Linked DNA regions of Homo sapiens: region 2 is linked to region 1. Evidence: promoter capture Hi-C in human tissues and cell types (Jung and others, 2019). All regions are on one chromosome and are shown on one strand. Each heading gives the region's core, a stretch centred on a gene start or on the middle of the fragment in contact. The rest is flanking DNA. Distances are from core to core; before and after follow the strand shown.

What was found. The method cuts DNA at HindIII sites, captures the fragments that hold promoters and counts their contacts. A contact is called where the count stands out against the background at its distance.
Region 2: a fragment that was not itself captured here is called in contact with the fragment with the promoter of MAN1C1 in region 1 in 3 of the 25 tissues and cell types used here (dorsolateral prefrontal cortex, hippocampus and neural progenitor cells).

The regions. Positions count from the first base shown.
Region 1 is chr1:25,612,488-25,618,236 of GRCh38, reverse strand. It overlaps MAN1C1 (mannosidase alpha class 1C member 1), which reads right to left and starts at 1,446. Exons shown (of 12, transcript NM_020379.4): 1 at 1-1,446. The coding sequence starts at 439. RefSeq lists silencers at 1,221-1,510, 1,531-1,820 and an enhancer at 2,011-2,180. The HindIII fragment of the contact is 13,132 bases long and covers 1-5,749 here.
Region 2 is chr1:25,519,423-25,525,866 of GRCh38, reverse strand. No RefSeq gene overlaps it. Among named protein-coding and RNA genes, the nearest start is that of LDLRAP1, 21 kb to the left of the region's middle. The HindIII fragment of the contact is 7,001 bases long and covers 299-6,444 here.

The sequences.
Region 1 (5,749 bases), core at 197-2,696:
CGTTGAAGTCAAAGCGGAAAGGGACGCCCTCGTCCCCGGGCCTGGAGGCCGGGATGCTATTGCCCCGGGCCGCCGTGGCCTCCTCGCGGGGTCCAGTGGGGCGGGTGCGCCGCAGCCCCCCTTTCCTGCGGCGGGGACTGGCCCAGCTGCTGGGGTCATCCTCGCCCGGGGCCGGCGCGGCGGGGGCCGGGTTGGGAGGCGGCTCCTGCTCGCGGGCCGGGGCATGGCCGGCGATTTCAGCCACCACTTCCAGACCAGGCTGCTGGGTCCGGGGGGCCAGGAAGAGGCGCTTGAGGCGAGAGGAGTGGGGCAGCAGGAAGAGGGCCCCGAAGCACAGGGTGACCAGGCCCGAGAGGAAGAGGAGGAAGAGGAACTTCTGCGGCAGCCGCAGCCCCCACGGGGAGGCCGGGACGAAGCCGGGCACTTTCCTCATGAGCATCGTGGCCCGGCCGGTGGCTCCAGAAGCCCTCGGAGTCCAGGCACGTGTCTGCGGGGGCGCGGTGAGGGGAGGGCGTCCGGAGCGCCGCCCGGGATGGGGGTCCCTGGGCAGGGTTGCCAACCCTGAGAGTTTCGCCGCTTCGGGGGACTGTCCCCGAAGTTCAGGGAGTTTGGAGCGAGTCCTCCCGCGAGGAGGCGGGGGCGCAGCGGCCTCGGCGGGGCCCGGGCGAGCGGAGCGGCACGGCTTGGGGCCCGGGCCCGCAGCGACCGGCCGCGCGCCGCAGCCTCCCCTCCGGCCGAGCCCTCCCCGCCGCGCCGGGGCCCGCGCCTTCCCGCGCTGCGGCCGCCGGGACCGTCACATGCCGTCCGCGGCGTCCCGGCTGTCCGCGCCGAGGGGCGCCCGCAGGCCCGCACCAAGCCGCCCTCCGCCCCCTAGGCTCCCGCCCGCGCTGGTAGGCGCCCAAAGTTTCAGCTTCAGAAGCAGTTTCCGGAGGGGACCGAGGCGATGGGGGGCTGGCGTGTCAGCGCCGCCCCGAGCGCGCGCACACCCGGCCCGGTCGCGACAGCGCCCGGGCTCGACTATCGGGACACGTCCACAACTTTCTCCGCCGCGGAGAGGGCGCCGGGAGCTGGGAGCCGGAGTGGCCAGGGAGCAGGAGCAGGCACTTCCGAGCCTGCGGGGGCAGGGGGCTTCCCCCGGGCCCCAGACAGCGCAGGGATGCCTGGGTCCGGAGCCGCGGCTGGGCGGCTGCAGATGCGCCCGGGAGCGCGGGCTCCCGCCCCTCGAACTCGGCAGGGCGCGGGGCTCCCACTGGGATCACCTGTTCCCGGCCCCGCCGGCTCCGCGGAGCGCGCAGCCCTGGCCGCGCCTCCCCCGCTGCAGCTGTCTTCCTCGCAGCGGCCGCTCCAGACCGGCCGCTGCCGCCGAGCCTGCGCCCCACACGCGCGCACAGCCACCCGGCCGCCTCCACCGCCGTCCCCGCCGCCGCCGCCGCTCGGGCTTTCACTGCGACAGCGCCCGCCGCCCCGCCTCCTGCCGCCCGCCGGCCACGCCCGCCGGCCACGCCCACGCGCGCGCCCCGCGCCCCCTCCCGCCGCCGCCGCGCCGCAGCCGGCTGAGGGCCGCGCGTCCGGGGGCGGGGCAGAGGCCGAGCGCGGGCGGGAGCGCAGCCCGCTCCAAGCCCCGCCCTCCCCGAAGGGCAGGCGTCGCGCGCACCCCCCATCCAGCGGGCGCCAATGGTCCAGCGGCGCGGGGCAGGCGAGGGCGGGGGCGGAGAGCGCAACGAGGGCATTGGCTGCATCCGAGGGATCCCCGTTGGGCCACAGTCGTCCATTGGTTACTGCCCAGCCTTCGCTGGACCCCAAGCGACAGAGACCACCCCCCAGCCCGCCCGCGAGGCTCGGGTTGGTGGCCCCCGGAAGCGGGCCGGAGACGGTGTTGCTCTGGAGGGGTGTGCCCGTCGCTGGGTGACCTCTCTCGCCCCCGAGTGCCAGCCCGGGGTTGTCAGGGAGCTGGCAGCCCGCGCCCTGGCGGCTGCCCCGGGCTTCTCAGCGCTAACGCCGGGCTGCAGGGGTGCTGCTGGTGGCTGGAGCCAAGCCAGAGAGCTGTGACCGCGGCCGGGTCGGCGGAGGTGATGTTTCCACTGGCCCCCTCGCAGACCACTGGCGTGCCTTCCTTTTCCCACAACCCTAAACGGGGCCAGGGCTCCTGGGTGGAGCACGGAGGGAGGCTGACCGCAGCCTTGAGAAGCAGCGAAAGGAAGAGAGCCCCGGGCGTGTCTACAGAAGACCACACACATAATGTGACGGACGTCTACCTTGATGCCTACGTGTGTTTATATGCACATGTGTGCGTCTGGGCATAGATCTATATGCACACAGAGACTGGCATGTGGGTGTGTACATGCACTCAAACATACACTTAATTTGGGTATGGACACCCAAGTGATTATACCACAGTATGCATAGACATATATGTAAATTAGTACAAACATGGACATGTGCACCCGCATACCCACAGACACTCAGGCAACAGATAACCTCCAAAAACAGCCAGGCATCAACTCCCAGACACGCGTGTCCTCAACCCCAAGGCCCTCACATCTTCCTCCTTGGACTTAGTCTCTGCATCTTCCCTTCCTGTTAAACCTAACCCAGGGTGAAGCAACATTGTGCTGTGTGGGTCTTTCATGCAAAACACTTTATAGAGACAAATAACAGCAGAGGGAGAGACAAATTAAGAGGTTTGTAATAGGCAAGAGGGAAAATATCTACTTTCAGCTGCAATTTAAAATGAAATGCAGTGTTGACGAGACAGAAAATACTGCAGGGAAGCCTTTCCCGACAGAAGAAGCGGGCCAGGCAGGCTCTCGCCTCGTAAATCTTGCTTCTTCCCTGAGGCCTGCTGGGGATGGGCGGCTGGGACTCAGTCATCCTTCTACCTCTGGCCAGACCACTGACAGCAGACCCACCCTCGATGTTTAAATATCCCTGGCATGCAACTTTCTCTCAACTGAAAATGAAAGTGGGTAACAGGTGCAAACATTTTGGTCACTGGAGATGACTAATCCTTCCCAATCCCACAAATATATGCAGCTTAAATATAAAATTCTAATTCAGATATTTCAATCTCTTGTGAGTTTCGTTGGCAGGTTGATGTGGAGCCAGCTGTGCAAATCAGAGATAAGCATGTGACCCATTTGGGTGCAGGAGCCCAGAGACCTGGCCTGGCCTCACCCATGTCTCCAACACCCAAGCATCGCCTCACTGGGTCCCACTGCAGGAAAGGGCAACCTTGTCTTTGGAGAACCAGGCAGGGACCCAGCATTCATTAGAGTCATCATCTGTGTTGTTCCTCATTGAGAGTGTAGGGGAATCACTGTTCAGTCCCCTGTGAAGGTAGGATCCAGAAAGGGAGAAGAGCAGAGCTGAATCTCAGAAGGAAATGTCTGTTTGAACTAGATGCTCACTGTGATGTGACACTCTGACCAAACTCTGGTGTGCTCTGTGAGCCAGGGTGGAAAGTGGGGCTGCAGCAGGACTGACGTGCCTTTCACACTCAGGCTATGAAAACCAGAGGCCCCAGCAGGTAACTCCATTGCAAAGTGATGTGATGTTGGTGATCACACCAAGTTGTTGATACCATCACTTGCTAGGGAGATACCAGTCTCTCTAAAAAGCTCTCTGAAACCCTGGGTGTCCCCTTGCCCCACACCTCTAGCCCCCAGAGACCTCATACATCCCGTGGCTCTTCTCCCACTGACTTTTAAAGACTATTGGTGTGTTGTCACAAAGCAGATGCTCAGTTCTTCACCACGGCTTCCTCACTTCTCTAACTCTCTAACTTCTCTAACTGCCCCGGGTCTTAACCACAATGCCTTCCACATGGGCACTGTGTTTGCTCAGTAAATGAATGAAGAAATGAGTGAGTAGATGCCCATTTCACAGATGTAGAAACTGAAGCTCGGGGAATGGAAGAACAGTGAACTAACATTTTCTATGTGCCAAATACATATTGTCTTATTTACTTTTCAGAATAATCTTTGTGGTAGATAATTATTAATAGCCCCATTTTACAGATAAGAATACCAAGGCTTAGAGAGACTTGGGATGAGTTATAAGTATCTATATTAATCAGAGTTCTCCAGAACAGAACCAATAGGCTATATATAGATATATAAAAAGAGATTTATTATGAGGGATTGACTTCTGTGATTATGGAAGGCTGAGAAGTTCCACAATCTGCCATCTGCAATCTGGAGGTCTAAAAAGCTGGTGGTGTAGTTCCAGTCCAAGCCAGGAGGCCTGAGAACCACAAGAGCCGATAGTGTAAATCCCAGTCTGAGTCTGAAGACCCGAGAACCAGGAGAGCTGATGTCCAAGGGCAGGAGAAGATGGATGTTCCAGCTCAAGCACAGAGCATGGATTTGCCATTCCTCTTCCTTTTAGTTCTGTTTCAGCCATCAGTGGATTGGATGCTGCCCACCCATACTGGTAAGGGCAGATCTTCTTTACTCAATTTACTGATTCAATTACTAATCTCTTCCAGAAATTCCCTTACAGACACACCCAGAAGTAATGTTTTACCAGCTATGTAAGCATCCCGTAGCCCAGTCAAATTGACACACAAAATTAACCTTCACAGTATCTTTCTCAGTTTAATTCAGAAATTCAAATGGAACTGGGAACAGAAACAAACAGCTATTTCTAAAAAATCTATTTATTCTGTCAACAAATATTTATTCAAATTAGATGCAAGGTATTGCACTAGTTTTGGACACAAAGGTGAGCAAAGCATGGTCCCTTGTTACTATTGATTCATTCATCCAGTGAAAAACTACTTATTGAACATCTACTATGTGCCAGGTACAGAGAGGCAGGGGATACAGCCCTGACACAGACATGAAGCCCACCTTCATGGAACTTCTTGTCTAAAAGGCAACAAACACAGACCAATCCGGCCCATCAGGAAGGGAACCCCCAGGCACCAGTGCTAGTGCTTCACTCACATCCTATCTCACCCTCGCAACAGCCCTCTCTGAGGTAGGTTTCAAGACCCCAGTTTAGCAGATGGGGAAACTGAGACTCAGGATGTGACATGACTTGTCCAAAGCCACACAGGGCGAATATGAGAAGAAATCAGGCCCATCTAATCACAGAATCTATGTGTTTTCTGTTAATGCTATTAGCAACTACTAAGATGGATGGAGAACTTATTATGCGATTGAGCCCTTTTAAAAACAAGTTAAAGACTAAACTGGCCAGGCACAGTGGCTCATGCCTGTAATCTCAGCACTTTGGGAGGCCAAGGTGGACGGATCACCTGAGGTCAGAAGTTCGAGACCAGCCTGGCCCACATGGTGAAACCCTGTCTCTACTAAAAATACAGAAATTAGCTCGGCGTGGTGGCATGTGCCTGTAATCCCAGCTACTCAGGAGGCTAAGGCACGAGAATCACTTGAACCTGGGAGGTAGAGGCTACAGGGAGCCAAGATCACGCCACTGCTCTCTAGCCTTGGTGATACAGTGAGGCTGTGTCTAAAAAAAAAAAAAAAAAAAAAAGACTAACTTATTTGATCCTTACAACACCCCATGTGAGGGGTACCATTAAGCACAGAGATGTTAAGGAACTTACCCAAAGTCACACAGCTAGGAAGTGGCAGAAGAGAGATTTGAGCCCAGACAATCAGGATCCAGAGCCCTCTATGCCTGTCAGAGTCTACTGTCTCCGTCTTGTAATGCTGTGAGAGCAGGTTCTATACGTAGTGAGAGCAAGGAAAGAGCACTGGCCTCAGGCAAGATCATCACAGGC
Region 2 (6,444 bases), core at 2,550-5,049, 95 kb after region 1:
GCTGGCTTTGGTTTATTTTCATGACTTCATCTCTCCCTTGCAAGAAAATCACATTTCCAGCTAAACCACACTTCCTGGCCCCTTTGCAGTTAGGAGAGGCCCATAAAGTAGGTAACTGATGACCAATAAAGTAGGTAACTGATGAGCATCAGTTCCAGACATGGCCATGAAACTCCTGTGGGATCCTCCGTGCTCTCTTCCTCTTCTGTGGTCAGCTTGGAAGTGAAGTGTTGATGATGGTAGCATTTACAAAGGGAAGGAATTGGGGTTCCTGTGGCTGCAAGGAGCAGAACACCCCTGCTACTTGCAGTGGACTGCAGGATGAGTGAACAATAAACTTAGATTATGTTGAGTCACTGAGATTATGGGGCTGTTCATTATAGCAGCTAGTGGTACTCATCCTGACTAATACAGTCTGGAAGAAGTGGGACCGTAGCAGGCTCTAAAGAGGCGAGTAAGATTTGGATACATGGAGAGAAGGAAAAGCGTATTCCAGAGGGAAGAAATAGCAGGAGCAAAGGGGTGGGAGTAGGAACAGGTGTGATGTGTTTGCACCCTAGAGAGAAATTCAGCCTGATTGGCACAGAGGGCTATGCTGGGTAGGAGTTGAGATCAAATATGTTCCAACTAGTGGGGTGCTAGAGCCAGCTCATACTGGCTCATGAGAGCCAACTGTGAGCATCTTTGCCCAGCTCTGTGTTCAGTGACATTGCTTTGGTAGCTTAAAATTGGCCGTGGTGGGAGTATTTACACCACGGCGATTAGCAAACACCCAAGTCAGGGCTTTTTTCCTCCCTTCGTTAACCATTTATCAGCACACTGCTGACTGCAACCCACACGAGGAGAGATCCTGCCTATGTGGGAGGCAGTGAAAAGAGCAAAGATCCAGGAGCCGTGTCTAATCCTGCTCCTTCTGAGCCGTGTGGCCTCGGGCAAGTGTATGTCACTTCTTTCCGCCTCAGGTTCCTCATCTGCAAAGTGGATCTAATAGTACCTCCCTCATAAGGTTGATGCGAGGATAAGTAGGATCACGTATGGGGATTGCTGCCTTAATCACTTCAGCATTGTTCCTGTGCACGTGGCACCTCCTACTCCAAGTCCCTGGGACTCTCTGGGGACCTTCTCTGGCCGTGAGGCAGGTCCAGCCTCCTTACAGAGGATGTCGGAAGGGCAGGGGAGCTGCTGTCTTTCAGAGCAGTCCTCAACCAGAGGTGGGTGGGAATTGGTGGATAAATGCCCCAGCTTTCTCAGCCCTTGATTAGGACAATCCGAGGCACATCCTGTCCAGTTCCCAGTGGACTCCAGCAGGGTTGAGCCCCAGCGTCCCTGGCCATAGCCAGTTCGCCAGCACAGCCTGAACTGGTCCTGCCTCATTTCCCCACTTCCCACCTTGCTTCTTGGGGTCACTGCCCAAGGGAACTACCTGCTCTCTCATCCTTGTCTCCGGGTCAGCTTTTGGAGGACCCCAACCCAGCAGCAGCCAAGATGATCAATAACCAGAATTGCCTCTTAATGCTACTGAAATTTACACAGTGAGGCCACACGTGCTCCGTCCCTGCAGTGACCCCGCAGGTAGCGGGACCCATGTACTCCACTTTACAGATGGAGAAACTGAGGCTCAGAGAAGAGCAGTGATTTGCTGAGGTCATCCCACTGTCAAGCAGAAGGGCTAGCACTGGGCTGGCTATTTCCCATGGGCTCAGCTTTGAGTGGCTCTGGGTCCCCGGAGGACCTTGAGCTGGCTGGGCAGGTGGTCCCTGCCCCTCTGATGCTCTCCCTGACTGGTTGGGCTGACTCTAGCCCCTACGTGGGGCCTGGAACAGTGAAGAGCAAATGGGCTGGTAGTAAGAATGGCTGGTTATTAAAACCATCTATCACTCAGAAGGCCTGACCTCATTCTGTCCCAGGAAAGCCAGTCCTGCCTGGGCTGGCCAGGGGGTTACGGTGGGGTGGAAGGGGTGGGGCTGACCCAGGAGGAAAGGGTGGGCGGGGGCTACGCAAGGCCAGAGAGTAGCTTGGGTGGGATGAGGTCAGAGACAACTGCTGGGTATCTGTGTCTCCGCAGTGTGAGGGTAGCCAGTGCCCCAGGGACAGTGAGAGGAGGCGACAAGGCTAGTGTGATGCACCTTTGGGCCGTGGCCTGAAGAGGGGACCCTTGCTCAGGAAGAAGGGGTGGGTCCCTGCCTTTAATTCCCTCATCACTGCCTGAGCCATGCAAGTGCTGAATCCACCAGATCCAGGTTCCCAAGTGCCAGAAGACGGGGATCGGGGCAAAACGGTGGCTATGACGTGAACCCTGAATGTGCCAGTGAGTGGCCACTATTAGTGAGTACCAACAATGTGCCACGCATTTGTGTTGGGCACTCAATACACATCTCATTTCACTCAGGTGAATGGTTAGGGGCCTGAGTTCTGGAGGAAGAAGGTCCTGGGTCAGGATCCAGGCCCCCACCATGGGTATCTGTGTGCTTTGGTGAGTTGCCTCGCCCTGCTAGCTTTACTTTCCATTTCCACACCTGTAAAGTGGAGTAACAATGGCACCCGCCTCATGGGAAGGATGTGGCGAGGATTTGGTGATGGATCATGTTCATCATGCTCAGCTTAGAGCCTGGCACGTGGGACACTTATTAATTGGCAGCAGAGATGATGACAGGGGGCCCTACTCTGTCCAGGGTGCTGTGCCGAGTGCTTTTCATGGATTATCTGATTTAAACTTCATAACCACCCAGAGGCGGTGGGACTGTGATTGGCCCCCCTCTTACAGGTAAGGAAGCCAACTCAGAGGGGTGAAGTCTCTGACCCAAGGTCACACAGCTGCTGGATGGCAGAAGTGGGATTTGAATCTAGGTCTCTGCCTTAGAAGCCTGATTCGCAAAAACCCCTCACCCTTCTTCTTACCACCCCGTACCCTCATATATGAGGTTAATAACTCACTATGGTTCATCTCTCTGGTCCTTTAAGAAATACTTCTGGGTGAGGCTTTACTGGAGGCTCAGAGAGGGCAAGGGACTGGCCTGGGGCTGCAGAGCTAAATGGTGGCAGAGCTGGTCCTAGGACCCAGGCCCTCTGGCTCTCTGGCCAGGCCTCATGCCCACCCATAAGAGATCATTCAGGACCCTGGATGTCATTTCCATCTCTGCTCTGCTCTCTCGAGGTGGGGCTCTGATCTCCCATCCCTGTCCCCGCCTCACTCCTTTGTAGAAAGGTTCCAGGCCCCATGGGAGCTTCTGGGCTTTTCTTCCTAAGGCCACTGAACTGTGGGATTGAAGCCTCATTCTTTTCTCTTCCATCGATAGGTAATTTGCCTGGAACATGTTGAGCACTTTAAAAATTTGGTCACATTGCAGTGTCTGGGTTACCATGGTGACCTCACTTTGAATTTGCTTCCCAGGGGAGGCTGGTAATAATTAATACAGCACTTAGTGCTGGCTGCCCGCAGAGTGTGGGGGAGGATTCTGGAGTCCCCTGGGATCCGCTTCCCTAGGGGGAGCACTGCTTCCTCCTCTGAGCAGGATCCTGGGGTTCTCCAAGGAGAAAGTGGGTGGGGGGAGAGGACCTGCCCACCCTGCCCACCCCTTCGGCAGGCCCAGCAGCCATGCTGTCAGAGCTGGTCTATATCGGGATGGGGAATTCAGGGCTCAAGGGAGAGTGTGTGACTTGACCAAGGCCACACAAGATCCAGACAGCATCACCATTGGGTGGAAAGCTGATTTCCTAAGCTTTAGGACAGAGCTCCAGTGATTGCCAAGTTTGAGGAAGCCCAGCTCCAAAACTTCTCCCCTTCCAGAATGCCTGGAACACAGTGCAAATGCCCCAAGCTGGGGGTGGAGTGGGGAGGTCAGGGTGGGTGGGAGGCAGTCATGGCCCATTCAATGCGAAGTGGGTTCTCAGATGACCCAGGGTGTTGGGGACCAGGCTCAGAGGAACTTTGGCGGAGGGAACTGGAGAGGTTGGGATGGGGAGAGGAGCCTGAGAGGGAGGTCCTACAGGACAGGCCTTAGACATTTCCGGCAAAGGGTGGAAGAGCAGTGAAGGGGCATTCTGCTTCTCATGATCTTCTCCATTCCTCTCCTCCCCAGCATTTCTTGGTCTCCACCCACGCCAGTTCTTGTAGAAAGAAGAGTAGAAGGACGTGTAACAGAAAGAAGAAGAAATCTCTGTTAGGGCTGAGTGCAGTGGCTCATGCCTATAATCCCAGCATTTTGGGAGGCTGAGGCAGGAGCATCTCTTGAGCCCAGGAGTTGGAGAGCTGCCTGGGCAACATAGTGAGACCCCATCTCTAAAACAAAAAACAAATTAGCCAGGCATGGTGGTATGTGCCTGTAGTCTCAGCTACTTGGGAGGCTGAGGCAGGAGGATTGCTTGAGCAGAGGAGAAAGAGGCTGGGTGACAGAGTGAAAATGTCTCAAAAAAAAAAAAAAAAAAATCCAGGCTGGGGATGGTAGCTCACGCTGTAATCCCAGCACTTTGGGAGGCCGAGGCAGGTGGAACACCTGAGGTCAGGAGTTCGAGACCAGCCTGGCCAACGTGGTGAAACCCTGTCGCTACTAAAAACACAAAAATTAGCCAGGTGTGGTGGCACATGACTATAGTTCCAGCTACTCGGGGGGCTGAGGCAGGAGAATCGCTTGAACCTGGGTGGTGGAGGTTGCAGTGAGCCAAGATTGTACTCTAGCCTGGGTGACAAGAGTGAAATTCCATCTCAAAAAAAGAAAAGAAAAAGAAATCCAGACTGCATCCCACTTTTTCCAGATGGGGAAAGTGAAGCTCAGAGAGGCCTTAGAGATGTAGAGAGACCACAGCCAATAAGTGGTCAGCTGGAGATTCAAACCCACATCAGTGCATGTAGCATCTGCACTCTTAACCTTTACCCTCGGGCAGGGTTCTCTCCCTGATCCACATTCCCCTTGGGGCCTGAGCCGAGGGCTTGGGGAGTTTAGCTCTGATGTAGAGTTGGAGGGCAGGATGGGCCTGAGGCAGGAGATGGGGAGGAAAACTAGGCTGGCTTCTCTGCTGGAAACTGGAGCAGGTGTGGCTGAATCAAAAATGCTGGAAGCTTGGGAGCTCCAACCATGGAAGTGGGTTTTAGTAGAGGGTTGGGGAGAAGGGGAAAGGGGAAAATGGCTTTGGTATCTTTGCTCACGTCCAAAAACAACTGAGTTTGTGGTGTACCCTTGGTCTCAAAGGAAAACAAACCTGTGACTTTAGTATGCTGCCACCAGGTGGCGGTGTAATGTGGCTACTCATATCACAGATTCACCTCTATTAAAATAAATTGCACTCATTTTTCAAAAGGATAAAAGTCTTTAAAGAATTAGATTTATATATTATTTCACTTGATTCTTAAAAACTAAGGTAACATTTTAGGGGAAAATGCCTGAGATATAGTTTGGTTCATTCTTCCCTGATCCTTAACTTTCATCTACCTACCCTAAGCCTGGGCTTTCTGGTGATCTGTCTGTATGGTCCTAGTCAACAGCCAGTGAAGCCCACCCCAAAAGTTTTCATGCCAACTCGAGAAGCCAGAAAGAGCAAGGGACACAGTCAGCTCTCATCCTTCCCCTCAATTAGCCCAATTCTGGAGATAGCTGCCCACCACCCCTAGGCTGCCTAACTTCTACATAGACTTTACATATATTGTGGCTCTCCTCCCACTGGGTTTTAATTCCGTTTTTTTTTTTTTTTTTGAGACGGAGTCTTGCTCTGTTGCCCAGGCTGGAGTGCAGTGGGTTATCTCGGCTCTCGGCTCATTGCAACCTCCACCTCCGTGTTCAAGTGATTCTCGTGCCTCAGCCTCCCAAGTAGCTAAGACTACTGGCGCACACCACCATGCCCGGCTAATTTTTGTATTTTTAGTAGAGACGGGGTTTCACCATCTTGGCCAGGCTGGTCTCGAACTCCTGATCTCAAGAGATCTGCCTGCCTCAGCCTCCCAAAGTGCTGGGAATACAGGCATGAGCCACTGTGCCAGGCCTGGGTTTTAACATGACTGTCCGCCACACCAGAAGGTTAGTCCCTCCAAGCAGAGACCATGACTCATTCATCTGCTACTGTTCTAGGTCTTAACCACAATGGCCGGCACATGGGCGATGATCAGCAGTTGGTTGAATGAATAAATGAATTGCTATTTCACAGCTGAGGAAACTAAAGTTCCTGGAGAGAAATAATACCAATAATAATAATAATAATAATAATTGGCATTTGCTATGTACCTACTATGTCCCAGACATATATTAACTCTAGTTTCCACAACAATTCTAGGATACCATTATTATGCACATTATGCAGATGAGGGGACTGAGGCTGAGAGACATTTGAGATGGGGGAGGGAGCAACTGAAGGGGACCCAAGTCCAGTTCAGTAGCTCATTTGGGAGAGGAAGTTGAGGGCAGGCATCACTCATCCTGCTGTTCATTTATTCAGGACAAGTTTACTGCAGTTAGA